4 separate regions of the Homo sapiens genome follow, and all the other regions are linked to region 4. Evidence: promoter capture Hi-C in 16 types of primary human blood cells and fetal thymus (Javierre and others, 2016). All regions are on one chromosome and are shown on one strand. The core of a region is centred on a gene start or on the middle of the fragment in contact, and the rest is flanking DNA. Distances in the headings are between cores, read along the strand shown.

The links. The method cuts DNA at HindIII sites, captures the fragments that hold promoters and counts their contacts. A CHiCAGO score of 5 or more calls a contact.
Region 1: a fragment that was not itself captured here is called in contact with the fragment with the promoter of IGBP1 in region 4 in 1 of 17 cell types (total B cells); the score reaches 6.1 in total B cells.
Region 2: a contact is called between a fragment that was not itself captured here and the fragment with the promoter of IGBP1 in region 4, in 1 of 17 cell types (total B cells). The highest score is 6.2, in total B cells.
Region 3: a contact is called between a fragment that was not itself captured here and the fragment with the promoter of IGBP1 in region 4, in 1 of 17 cell types (neutrophils). The highest score is 6.0, in neutrophils.

What each region holds. Positions count from the first base shown.
Region 1 is chrX:68,837,251-68,840,732 of GRCh38, forward strand. It overlaps EFNB1 (ephrin B1), which reads left to right. Exons shown (of 5, transcript NM_004429.5): 2 at 1,367-1,644; 3 at 2,414-2,506; 4 at 2,710-2,838; 5 at 2,992-3,482. The coding sequence ends at 3,404. Among named protein-coding and RNA genes, the nearest start is that of EFNB1, 10 kb to the left of the region's middle. The HindIII fragment of the contact is 8,288 bases long and covers 1-3,482 here.
Region 2 is chrX:68,498,104-68,501,509 of GRCh38, forward strand. YIPF6 (Yip1 domain family member 6) reads left to right here and starts at 948. Exons shown (of 7, transcript NM_173834.4): 1 at 948-1,020. The coding sequence starts at 964. RefSeq lists enhancers at 114-788, 587-1,066. The HindIII fragment of the contact is 2,578 bases long and covers 336-2,913 here.
Region 3 is chrX:71,544,815-71,547,828 of GRCh38, forward strand. All of the region lies in intron 4 of OGT (O-linked N-acetylglucosamine (GlcNAc) transferase), which reads left to right. Among named protein-coding and RNA genes, the nearest start is that of OGT, 13 kb to the left of the region's middle. The HindIII fragment of the contact is 1,255 bases long and covers 624-1,878 here.
Region 4 is chrX:70,131,678-70,134,702 of GRCh38, forward strand. It overlaps IGBP1 (immunoglobulin binding protein 1), which reads left to right and starts at 1,770. Exons shown (of 7, transcript NM_001551.3): 1 at 1,770-1,863; 2 at 2,046-2,458; 3 at 2,846-3,025. The coding sequence starts at 2,271. RefSeq lists an enhancer at 2,189-2,648. The HindIII fragment of the contact is 12,060 bases long and covers 789-3,025 here.

The sequences.
Region 1 (3,482 bases), core at 983-3,482, 1.3 Mb before region 4:
ATAGGTACTTAGTGTTAGTATCTGACCTCCTGCCTCTTGGGAGACTGCTTCTAAGAGGCAGTCAAACATGTTGAACGCCTATTGTGTGCTAGGTGTTCTCCATGTGCTGCCTTGTCTCCCCACCACAATATTGGAAGGTAGGGGCTCTTGCCACCCCCACTTTACAAGAGAAGAAACTGAAGCTCAGAACAGGCAGCTCATCCAAGGTCACAGAGTTAGTAAGGGCCTAGCTTTGGAATCTGATTCTAAAGTCTGTGTTCTTTCTCCTACATGGTTCTGCCTTGCTCTCAGCACCAGCCCATCCAGTCTCAGAAATGGCCAATGGAGCACCATTTTCTTTCTGTGTGCTTAGGCAAGGACAGAGTCCTATGGATAGGTGGTCCTGGGCTGCTGACCCTCCCTGCTGTCCCCCAGTGCCTGGCCTTCTGGATTAGAATATGAACCTGGCTCAAAAGGCATTTGTCCATCTCCTCTCAGGAGCTGGAGTAGGAGCAACATAGAGGTGACAGGTTAGGATACAGATGAGGCCCTATCTTCTATGATCTGTTGTCTCTGGTTGAGCCCCTTCTCTTCTCCTCTGTTCTTTTTAAGAATGAGATGAATCAAGTTTAGGAATTCAGGCTCTTGCATTTTGAGGGTGGGATGAATTGCCAGTAGGACAATAGGCAGTGGGAGTGAGCAGAGCTGCACCTGGCCAGAGACTGTGGCCATCATCCCTTTGCTCCAGGCGATGCCTGTTCCTATCTTTCCATCATGACCAAGATTAGTAAGGATGGGGGAGAAGACATGGGTCCCAGACAGATTGAGCTCCCCCAGCCTTTGGCTGGGAGCTGCGGGGAGTGGTGACTAAGACATGTGTGGGCTTGCTGTGTGTGTGTGTATGTGTGTGTGTGTGTGTGTGTGTGTGTGTGTGTGTGTGTGTGCGCGCGCGCGCGCGCACGTGTGTATGGGTATAGGAGAGGTAGTAGCAGCGGTCATGAAGGAATCTTTGTTGGGGGTGGGGGTATATAAGACTGCCACCTCCAGGTAGCATGGGCCTGACACCTTGGTACCCAGCCCATTGGCCACGTCAGCCCCCTGCGGAAATGCCACATTAGGACAAAGGGCTCCCCCAGCCAGGCAGTGCTCCACCCTGCCGAGCAGTCAGAGCCTGGCAGCCTTGCCCATGGGCCACCCCTTCCACACTCTCCTGGTAGTGTGGTTCTCTCTCCCCACCCCCAGCCTGAGGATGGAGGAAGGGCAGAAGGCTTGCTCTTGCCATCTCCACCCAGTAGGCCCAGCCCGGCTCTTGTCCGCTTCCCTGGTTCTGGAATGGCCTGGGGCCACCCCCAACCCTGAGGCTGACCATCTTCTTCCTTCTGGGCAGGTTCCTGAGTGGGAAGGGCTTGGTGATCTATCCGAAAATTGGAGACAAGCTGGACATCATCTGCCCCCGAGCAGAAGCAGGGCGGCCCTATGAGTACTACAAGCTGTACCTGGTGCGGCCTGAGCAGGCAGCTGCCTGTAGCACAGTTCTCGACCCCAACGTGTTGGTCACCTGCAATAGGCCAGAGCAGGAAATACGCTTTACCATCAAGTTCCAGGAGTTCAGCCCCAACTACATGGGCCTGGAGTTCAAGAAGCACCATGATTACTACATTACCTGTGAGTCCCGCCCATCCCATCCTCTGGCTCTCTCCCTGGGCTTAACTCTTTCCTCTCCTGTAGTAGTGGGAGCTTCTAAGTGGTGCAATGCTATTGCATGTAGTTAAGACCCTGCTGGATCTGATCCCCTTTGAAGACTGGCATGTTCTCCTCTTAGCCTGGCCTTGGAATTCTCGCCCCAACATTTACCAAGCTCACCTTGGCTCCAGGGGTTGGGCAGGAGAGGTCTCCAATTCGTGTTGCTTCTCTCTTATTTTCTTTGCCCACCTAAGTTCTAATATTGGGAATGGTAACATATGCCAGGCCCTTTGGGATCAGCCAGCTATTCAGCCTTTTTCTTCAGGGGAAACCAAGGCCCCAAAAGGTGAAGGGACTTCTTGCCTTAGATCACACAGTGAGTTAGAGATAGGGTCAGGACTCCAACCCAGTTCTCCTGATTCCTACTCCAGAATTCCTTTCAGTCTATGTAGAAGCCCCCATTATGATCCCAGTGAGGAGGCAGACCTTACCGAGGGGCCATGGCCTGCTCGTGACAGAGGAGCAGTGCCCCTGGGGGTGGGGCTTGTTCTTGGCCTGGGCTGGACTAGGCCATTTTGTTCCTAGTGGGAGGGAAGAAAATGAAAAGGTTCACTGGTAGATGGGAGCTGCTTGCTTCTCCCGACTGCAGTTTCTCTCCCTGTTGGCTGAAGCAGAATGGGAGTTTCTGGGTAATGCTAGTAGACCTTTCTCTCCTCCTGACTTCTCTGACTTCTCTGGCCTCTTCCTGCAGCAACATCCAATGGAAGCCTGGAGGGGCTGGAAAACCGGGAGGGCGGTGTGTGCCGCACACGCACCATGAAGATCATCATGAAGGTTGGGCAAGGTGAGTGCCTAGTCTGAGGGTCCCCTCACCCCACCCTGTTTGACCTTTGGAACAGATGTTCCTGGCTGGGTGCATGTGTATTAGGAGTGGGGGAGCAGGCGTAGGGTTACAGTATCCAGGCCATTCTTGGCCCACCCTTGATGACTGAGGGCACCTATGCTGGCCGGGTCCCTGCCTCTCACCTGTTCTGTCTCCATTCTTAGATCCCAATGCTGTGACGCCTGAGCAGCTGACTACCAGCAGGCCCAGCAAGGAGGCAGACAACACTGTCAAGATGGCCACACAGGCCCCTGGTAGTCGGGGCTCCCTGGGTGACTCTGATGGCAAGCATGGTAAGTGTATGTGTTTCCCAGAGGTCAGGAGCCATTGCTCTGTCACCTTGTTAGGCCCTGTCCCTGAAGAAATGCAAGCTGGGCCTGGCCTGAAATCTGCTGTGTGTCCCTGGGACCCCTGGCTGACTGTTCCTTCCCCTTTCCCTTCCTCAGAGACTGTGAACCAGGAAGAGAAGAGTGGCCCAGGTGCAAGTGGGGGCAGCAGCGGGGACCCTGATGGCTTCTTCAACTCCAAGGTGGCATTGTTCGCGGCTGTCGGTGCCGGTTGCGTCATCTTCCTGCTCATCATCATCTTCCTGACGGTCCTACTACTGAAGCTACGCAAGCGGCACCGCAAGCACACACAGCAGCGGGCGGCTGCCCTCTCGCTCAGTACCCTGGCCAGTCCCAAGGGGGGCAGTGGCACAGCGGGCACCGAGCCCAGCGACATCATCATTCCCTTACGGACTACAGAGAACAACTACTGCCCCCACTATGAGAAGGTGAGTGGGGACTACGGGCACCCTGTCTACATCGTCCAAGAGATGCCGCCCCAGAGCCCGGCGAACATCTACTACAAGGTCTGAGTGCCCGGCACGGCCTCAGGCCCCCGAGGGACAGTCGGCCTGGACCGGACCTCTCCTTTCGCCCCCACACCCCCTCCC
Region 2 (3,406 bases), core at 375-2,874, 1.6 Mb before region 4:
CCAAAAATATAAAACACTTTTATTTCACAGCCATCCCCTGCCTTGTTGGTTAAATGCTTAACACCACCAAAGGGCACCCAGGTATCCTGGATGCTGATGCTGTCAACAATGGCTGCCCTGTCTGACTACATTTTAGCCTGGGGCCAACGTAAACTGGGACCAGAAATACCTTGAAAGCCCAAAAGGATGAGATAAGGAAAACAGGTTGGGACATGAAGATTATCTTTTAAGTTATTGTCACAATAGTTACTCTCTTTTAGACCCTGAACATTTTCAGTACTTGCTCCAAATGGTTTAGCAACTTTTGAAGTGGGATTAACAAGTTTGGCCAATGAAGCTTCTTCCCTGCCCACCGCCAGAGGTGCTGGAGAAAAGTAATCCTGGAGGGTCGGCGTGGAGGCAGTAGAGAGGTTTATAAAAGTCAAGGAAGTGGGAAGAGGCTTGCGAGCAGCAGGAGAGGCGCAGAGTCAGAGGGGCAGGGGCGGCGGCGGAGGGAGCAGGAGGTTGGGGCTTGAGCCCGTCATTCCGGCGCACGAAAACTTGAAGTCGCTCGGTAGCCGGGGAAGGGAAGGAAGAGAGGCAGGCTCTTTCCTAGAGGTGCCGTGATCGAGGGTCTGGCACTCCAAGCCAACTCCTGAGAACGGGAAATGGGCGGGAGTCGGTGGGGTGGAGAGGGCAGCCGTGGTCGCGAGAGCGAAGGAGCGGTCTGAGAATCCGGCTTGAGTGTTAAAGGCTAAGCGTGTCTAGCTGGACCCGTGGCCCCGAAGAAGCGAGACAAGGCGACGCGGAGCTGTCCCTGACACCCCGAGGACCGAGGGACAGCGAAGGGCCGGGGCCGCCGGCCATTGCCAGGCGCCATTAGGTGACGCGGCCGTCACGCGATGACGCGCTGACCGGCAGTGGCCTCCACGTCGCAGGTTCCGCAAAGACCTGTGGGAGCGACCCGGGAGAAGGAGGGCCAAGATGGCGGAAGCGGAGGAGTCTCCAGGAGACCCGGGGACAGCATCGCCCAGGCCCCTGGTGAGCTTGGGATCTGCGACAAAAGGGACCGAGGGTGAGGCAGAGTGCCCCCTAAAGAAGTCGGGGGACGGGCTCGTGGCCTGAGAGCCGGAGCTCCTTCCGCCCGGCAGGCCCTTCTTGTACCCGATGCCAGAACCAGTCCCAACACTGCACCTGTTCTTTGCGCTAACCGCTTTGCCCCCTGCCCTCGTGGTTCCTTCCAGGTCTTTTTGTGAAACTCCGATCTTTCCTTTCCCATCCTCCCAGGTCTCGTCATCGTCCCCTACATTGTGTTAAATGGCGAACTTTAGGTGATTTCTTAAGTTATCTTTTCTTCTGCTGTCCCCTCATTTTATCAAAACCTGTCACCAGCCTTTGTTGAAGGAATAATGAGAGATTGCTTCCCGTGGGACATTAACGTTTTGTTGCTTATAACTTTAGTATTGACTTGTTCAGTGACCCCAGTAGGCCAGGTTTAACCCCTGTCGCAGCTCCTTGCCATTCTCTTCACCATACTTGTTCTCCTTTCTTATTTTTTACTTTTTTAAAAATCGAGACAAGGTCTCACTCTGTCACCCAGGCTGGAGGGCAGTGGCGCGGTCTCTGCTCACTGCAACCTCTGCCTCCCAGGCTCACGTGATCCTCCCACCTCAGCCTCCCTAGTAGCTAGGACCACAGGTGCGTGTCACCACACCAGGCTAATTTTTAGTATTTTTTTGTAGAGACGGGGTTTTACCATGTTGCCCAGGCTGGTCTCGAATTCCTGGGCTCAAGCTATCCTCCTGCCTCGGCCTTCCAAAGTGTTGGGATTACAGGCGTGAGCCACTGTGCCCGGCCATCTTCACTATACTCTCTTGCTCCTGTCTCTGCAAGGGATAGAATTTCCACTGCAAGCCCAAAGTGTGGACAAGTATTTTAAGAACACAGGCTTTGGAGTTAAACTTTACTTGGGATGGAATCCACCCACTTTGTGAGTTTCGGCAAGTCATTTTAGGGAGGGTGTTTCTTCATCTGTAAAATGGAGATAAAAATACCTGCCTCAAAACAGTTTTTAGAAAGATCAAATGGCATAATTTATGTAACGTGTCTAATACTATCAGTACCATGAACTGAGGAGTATAATGAGGTCAATATTCTGCTCCTGTCCCTCTTCTCAATGTGTTTAGTTATATAGTAGTTGCTCAGTAAATGGTTCTTCCCTTTCCTCTTTTTTTTTCTTTTTCTTTTTTTGAGACGGAGTTTTGCTCTTGTCACCCAGGTTGGAGCACAATGGCACAATCTCAGCTCACTGCAACCTCCACCTCTGGGGTTTAAGTGATTCTCCTGCCTCAGCCTCCTGAGTAGCTGGGATTACAGGCGCCTGCCACTACGTCCAGCTAATTTTTGTATTTTTGTAGAGACGGGCTTTCACCACGTTGGCCAGGCTAGTCTCGAACTCCTGACGTCAGGTGATCTGCCCGCCTCGGCCTCCCAAAGTGCTGGGACACAGGTGTGAGCCACCGTGCCTGGCCCCCTTTCCTCTGTTTTGAATTAGCAACTTAACATAGTGAACTGAGCTGGGAGATCAGTGAACTTAATTCTAGTCCTAGCTCTGCTGCTTACTAGCTCCATTTGTTCACCTCTTCACTCACTCAACAAATATTTATTGAGCATCCGCTACTATGTTCCAGGCACTCCTTTAGGCACTGGGGATATGGCAATAAGAGTGAGTTGTGTTAAGTTCTATCGTGACCTTGAGTAAAATCAGGCTGAACCCCAGTTTCCTCCTTTGGAAAATGGTGATAGGAACACATCACTGAATTAGTGAGAGTACTAAATGAGATAATATATACATTGTGCCTACTGTGACATTGTCATAGGTGCTTAGTAGTTTTTAGTTTCTTTCATTTAAACTTCTCCACCCCTCTTCTGTGAAGCTTTCCCCAGTTAACTTCAGTGGTTCTGATCACTCATTACTCAATATGCAATCCGCTTCCATTCAACAAATGTTTAGTGAACTCCCACAATGAGTAATGCACTGTGCTAGTTGCTGTAGGGAATGCAAAGGGCCTGCCTCTATGGTGCTACCAGTCTTAAGTTTTAGGGATAAGACAAGTATACAATGCTAAAATAAGGCAGTATGTAAGAGAAAGTTACACAAAGAATATTACAGAAATTTAAAGGAAAATGCTATCATGTCCAGTTGGGGTGACCAAGCTACATGGTGGAAGTTATATTTGAAAGGACTTCAAAGGATGGGTAGGATTTGAAATTGCAAGTGAGTATAAGAGCTATCAATAACTGAGCACCTGCTACATGCCAGGTATTGTGCTAGACATCCTCTGCGTATTTGCTACTAAACTTTACAGCAATCATTTCAGTTAGGTGGCTTTTAACTACATTTTATGTGCAGATGAGGATATGACAT
Region 3 (3,014 bases), core at 1-2,500, 1.4 Mb after region 4:
CTGGGGGTAAAGCAAGAACCTGAACATTTTGGAGCCTTTCTGCTGAGCTAGACCATCTTTATAACACTGGGCTCCGTCATGATCTTATGTGGGAATAAATAACATTCCTTCAAATCTGAGGCTTGCCTGCTGGTGACAAGCAGAGCGCCTGTGATTTGGCTCAAGACTCCTATATGATGCAGGTGCCATTGAAAATGCTGCTCTTCTAAGTCCTTTGTGGCTTGTAAGTGGAGAAGAATTTCATCCAAATGTTACCCTGTAATACTGGCATTTAAAATTCTTATTTAACCTTCCTCCCTTCATCTTCCTCACCCTTTTTACAGTGGAAGAAAGGCTGTTAAAATGATTACAAATTAATAATTGGAACATCCTGTCCCTTGTCCCCACTCCCTTCCCAAGTTCCTTTTTCCTCTTTTCCAATCCTAGTTGTCTACCTTCTTTTCTTCCTCATTTCCTTCTTTTATTCCTCCCCACCCCAACCCCTTAAAAAAAAGGTCAGAAGGACAAAGCTGGTTTGTTTGGGAAATGGACTGATCGAAAGAAAACTTGCCAAAGTGGAAAGGTGGCTTTTAGCATTCTGTGTTTCCAAATAATGAATTTGAACACCAGGTTGGGTTAATTAAAGCTTTTGGTATAATTTAAAATTAAATTTATAAATGCAGTTGTCTTGTTACAAGCCACCTTACGCAACCGCGCTGCAGGGGTGAGGAGTGGGGAGAAACCAGAATGCTTCTGAAACTCCCACCTGTTGCTCTGAGCCCCACGCGCATGCTAATGCGTGGAGTGTATGCGCAGAGTAGCTGTCTGTTTGACTGCTTCATCCAGGGAGGGAGAAGGCTTTTCAGCACCATCTAATGTTTTAAAAGGCACTAGTTTTAAGTGCACAGCTCATAAATTCTGCTGACATTTTGGATTAACCTTATGTAGGTTGCCAGCTAATGAATTGTAATTGATTTCAATCTTAGCTGATAAATCTAATTGGTAATTTATAGAACAAATATTTGATAAGCTCCTATTAATTGTCACCCCACCAAGCGGACAGCTAACATGAATTGCACTTCACTGCAGCTTTAGAGATCGGTTTAGGCTGAGACATTGCGCCTGCCTTAGGTTGCTGACTTCTTTATTTCAGAGCTCTGGAGACACCTAGTTTGAAAAATGTTATTCTGTTTTTTTGTGAGAACTTAGTAAACAAGAAAATACTCTTGAGTGAAATGCAATGTATTTCTTTTGTAATCAGTGCATTTGAAAATTCAAGCCAGCATATTCCTAGTAGATGGAAGCAAAATTAAGTTGTCTTTGTAGAAAATGAAGAGCCTTTCTTCCAGCAAAAATCCCTGCTGTATGCAATAGCCCTGATTAACCCTCTCCCTTCTGCATGTTTCCCATATTACAGACTTGAGACTGTCCTCATTCCCATATGTAATAGACATCCAAAGAATTTCAATTGCTTTGTTGAACTTTTACTAATGATCTTGTTTTTATTTTCTCTCTTGTTTTTGGTTTTTCACCATTGATATTGTATTTAGAAGGTTTCAGGTGGGTGAAACCTCCTATTCCATGCGTAAGGTGCCTCGCTGAAGGGAGCTCGAGGCCTGGATCTAGGGCAGACACACAACCTCCTCCTCCTCTTCCAGCAAGGAACGCACCGAAAAGTCACATGATGAGAAATATGGTAACGGGTTTGTAACTGCCACAGCAAAACAATTTGCCTCCATGCCTGAATCTTCTGTCTTGTGGCTTCAGAAACAGCTTAAAATAATTTTATTTACAAGCAAGTTATGTAAGAGAATGTTTTATACTATAGCCACAATTCTGTCAAAGATAAGTAAAAGTTAATTGATATTAAAAATTATTAGAGATAATTTACTTAGTAAAAGCTTCTAACTCTTCTTGTTGTTCATTTTTTTTCCTTTTTTCTTCTTTGTTTGGATTGCAGCATTCTGCTCTTCTGATGATGCGCTGTGACCCTGCAGTAGCGCAAAGGCTGCGCAGCGTTAATGCGCATTGCGTGCGAATGAACCCCTGTGAACGGTTGACTAGATGAGTAATCTGATTGACTGGCTCCCTCAGTCCTATTCTGTAGCCTTTTTGGATAAAATTGGGTTTTAACATACCTCGAGTCCAACTAATCTCATTAAACAAATATTCTCCATGGGCCTGTCTAGTAGATTAATGGATCTGGTTGGCCGTTTGCTGCGTCTAGGGGTGTTCTATGTAGCGCAGCAGTTCGCAGCGATTGCGCAGTGCGATGCTGTTAGGTTGCGCAAGCGATGTTTGCGCTCGCATTACAGGGACCTCAACCTAGGTGCAATCCTGTCATGTGAGGTTTCAGCTTCAGTCCTCCTTGGGAGACGGGGCATTGTGAGAATGTAACTTAAAGCCTGGCTTTATGATATCCTACTTGGCAGAAAGACATTTTTCTCCTCAGTAGCATAGTTTTGATGTTAGTGAGGAACATTGTTGAAGAGCAGCATTTCCCAAAATGTGTTTCATAGTATTCTAATAAAATGCCCAATGAAAGAAGAGTTCCATGGTCAACTAAGTTCAGGGAACCCTGTTACACTATTAAAGGCTTAGGGAAGTCCAGTAAAGAAACCTATTTTCCGAATTTATTTGATCATGAACTCCTTTTTTTTTCAGCCATACCTCTTAACACCTCATAGAACACACTTTGGGAAACAGTGGGGGTAGGAAAACTCGGCCTCAAGTTGCGCCCTCTAGGTAGCACTTGAAAACATGACAAGGGCCCGTAGTTGTTTGGATAAGAGAACTCCAGCATAGAGCCTTATAGCAACTGACTTCCCAGTTAAGTCCCAGTGTAAGGGTTGGTCTTTGGTTGGCAGAACTGAACATGGTGGTTTGCACTTGGGTTCTGGTGGCGCAGGCGCAGGAGCAGCCAGCTGTGGCAGCGCATTAGTTTTGGCGCAAGCGAGCCTATGCTGCAGGGTCACTTTTGGCTGGTCAGAGAAGGAATAATGATATCACCTTCTTCCCCCCCTCCCCCCAATCTT
Region 4 (3,025 bases), core at 520-3,019:
GCCTGGGTGGCAGAGTGAGACCCTGTCTCAAAAAAAAAAAAAAAAAAAGACTAATTTTGAAAGCCATAAAAAATGACTTACAAAGTTTAAGACCAAATTAAGACTGTGCACATTTTTTTCCTCTTAAGTAACAGTAAAGACATGTTTTAATCCAAGCAAATGCAGAGAAGCAAATTATCTTTACTCTCACAATTACTACATTTCTAAGTCTCCTCCACAAGTACTATCTTTTTCTTTATATTCCCTGCCAAGCCTGACCCTGAAAGGTCAGTTTACTAGAGGTGCCAGATAAACCAAATAGGTAATTCGCCAAAGCCTCACTTCCTTCTTAGTTTATAAAGCAGGGGTTGCAAGGGAAGGTTTATTAGAATCACCTGGGAAGCTTTTTCAACCTACATGTGTGCCACAGCCTCCTCTCCCTCTTAGGAAGCACTGTTCTAGTTTGGGGCTTCAATCTGTCCCACATTAAAGGTCTTCATCTTTCTAAATCCTACCCAACTGAAGGTTAATGGAGTAGAAACAATTGAACGCAGAAGTCACTGACTTTGTCACAAACTGGCTGGACAAGTCCCTTAACCTTTCTGGTCTCAAGTTTTTCCTCCGATTTTGGGGGTTCCCTTTAAACTTTGACATTCTTCTATGTGACCGCATGTCATGTCTAAGAAGCCTTCTGAACTACTCCTAGCATGGGATGACTTGCCCTTTCTTGCTTTTCCAACAGCCTGTGCAATACAACATATCACCTATTTTATACTGTCCTATATTGCCCTCTAGTTGTTTTTTAATGAAGCTTTTTTTCTTCTCAACGATATGTAGTTTAAAATACTAGTTTAAAAGTTTATTTTCAGGGGTAGACAGTGTGCCTGCTACTTAAATCTCCTAGGACAATTCAGGCTGCGTCCTAAGGTAATCAGTATGTATTTATATTGCTTTGTTCAAAACAATGACGTCCCTTCTTTGAAGTCCTGAAATTATGTTTTCCATCAGTTCTGTCCAGTAGAAATATAATGGGAGCTACAAATATAGTTTTAAATTATCTGGCAGGCACATTTACAAAGTGAAAAGAAAGAAGTACAATTAATTCTAATAATATATTTAATCCAACATATCCAAAAGACTATCATTTCAACATGTAGTCCATGTAAAAAGTATTTACATTTTTCATTCTTTTTTTTTTAAATGTCTTTGAAATCTGGGGTGTTTTTTACACTTGCAGCACATCTCGATTCAAAATAGCCACTTTCAAGTGCTTAGTAACCACATGTAGCTAGTAACTACCTACTGAACAATGCTGTTCTGCATAAGTTGGCTGCTTTCCAAACTGATCACTTTTTTTTTTTATTCAGATAATGACTGATACTGAGTACTCAGGCTAGCCAGAGTGGTGCAAAGATGAGTCAAATTCATTCTGATAAGAGAGATTTGTAAGTCACTAGCAATTATACAGCGTGGTAGGTGCCATGATAGAGATGCATAGGAGAAACCCAGACTTGGCGGCTGAAGGGCACAGGGTGGAAGGCGGTAGAGAGACAAGGAAGGTTGCACAGAAATAACATTTGATGTAGGAACTAAGTGCACGAAGGGAAGCCGGCTGTGCGGTGACCGGAGTTGCAGGTTGCCAATCTTGCTGAGGGGGGCTCCACCGGACGCCGGCCTACGGGTCGTAGGCGTGTGTGGGGTGAAGGGGGAAGAGGACGGGAGAGGATTGGCTGGGAGGAACCCGGAGCTCCATCTGGTGGGTGGACGGAAACCGCAGGGGGGCGCTACTTGCACTTCGCGCTCAAGCGACCGGATCTTCAAACCGTGGGAGTGGTGCGGCGGCTAGAGTCCCTGGACTCCTCAACCTAGGGAGCTACTCGCGAGGTAAGGGGCGCGCCAGACTGGCTCCTAAAACGCACTCGCTCGTCCGCACTCCTCGCGCTCCGAATTCAGCCTCGCCTCACCCGGGCTTCAGAGCCCACAGAACTTCTCAGCCCCGTGTCGGCGACGAGGAGCTCATGGTAAAACAGCGCCTAGGGTTTTGCTTGTTTGTTTGCTTTTAACAGATGCCTACGACTTGTAACGGGCTGCCTGGTAAAATGAGTCTATGGAAACGGTTGCCAGGGCCGGCTAACAGCGGCTCCCGGAAGTCCTTTGATGCTTTGTTAACAGTGAAGCTACTGGACCAATGAGGTGCTTCTTCCGGTTTTGTCCGCGCTCGCCTAATTCTTCTTTATCAAGGTTGCCTTTGACCCCGGAAAAGAGATCTTCCGGGTTCCTCTCTCCCCAAGATGGCTGCTGAGGACGAGTTACAGCTGCCGCGGCTCCCCGAGCTGTTCGAAACTGGTAGACAGTTACTGGACGAAGTAGAAGTGGCGACTGAACCCGCCGGTTCCCGGATAGTCCAGGAGAAGGTGTTCAAGGGCTTGGACCTCCTTGAGAAGGCTGCCGAAATGTTATCGCAGCTCGACTTGTTCAGGTATGGGGGAAGATAGTAATAATGGCTGAGAACGAAGGTAATAATGGTTACCAAGGGTGGAGCCATTGCGCCTGAGTGGAGGGGACCTTTAGTGGTGAGAACGTTTCGTTCCTACTTACCACTGCGATCTTGTGTACATTGTTTACATTCCCCACCTCTCTTCCCAGATGGTTGATATCTTACGACTCTGCTTCCTAGCGTCTGCTGATTGCATAGGCATTGGGTGTGAGCCCTCAGCCACTTTCATTGAGTGAAACTGGCCGCTGTTCCCCGTGCCTCCTCCCTCTGGTCCACTCCCAGCCCAGCCTCCCACTCCGTCCCCCAGAAAGCAAGGGCCACAATTTGAATGCCTAGTCAGGCTTCACTGCCTCCTTTTTGCTCTTCCAGCCGAAATGAAGATTTGGAAGAGATTGCTTCCACCGACCTGAAGTACCTTTTGGTGCCAGCGTTTCAAGGAGCCCTCACCATGAAACAAGTCAACCCCAGCAAGCGTCTAGATCATTTGCAGCGGGCTCGAGAACACTTTATAAACTACTTAACTCAGTGCCATTGCTATCATGTGGCAGA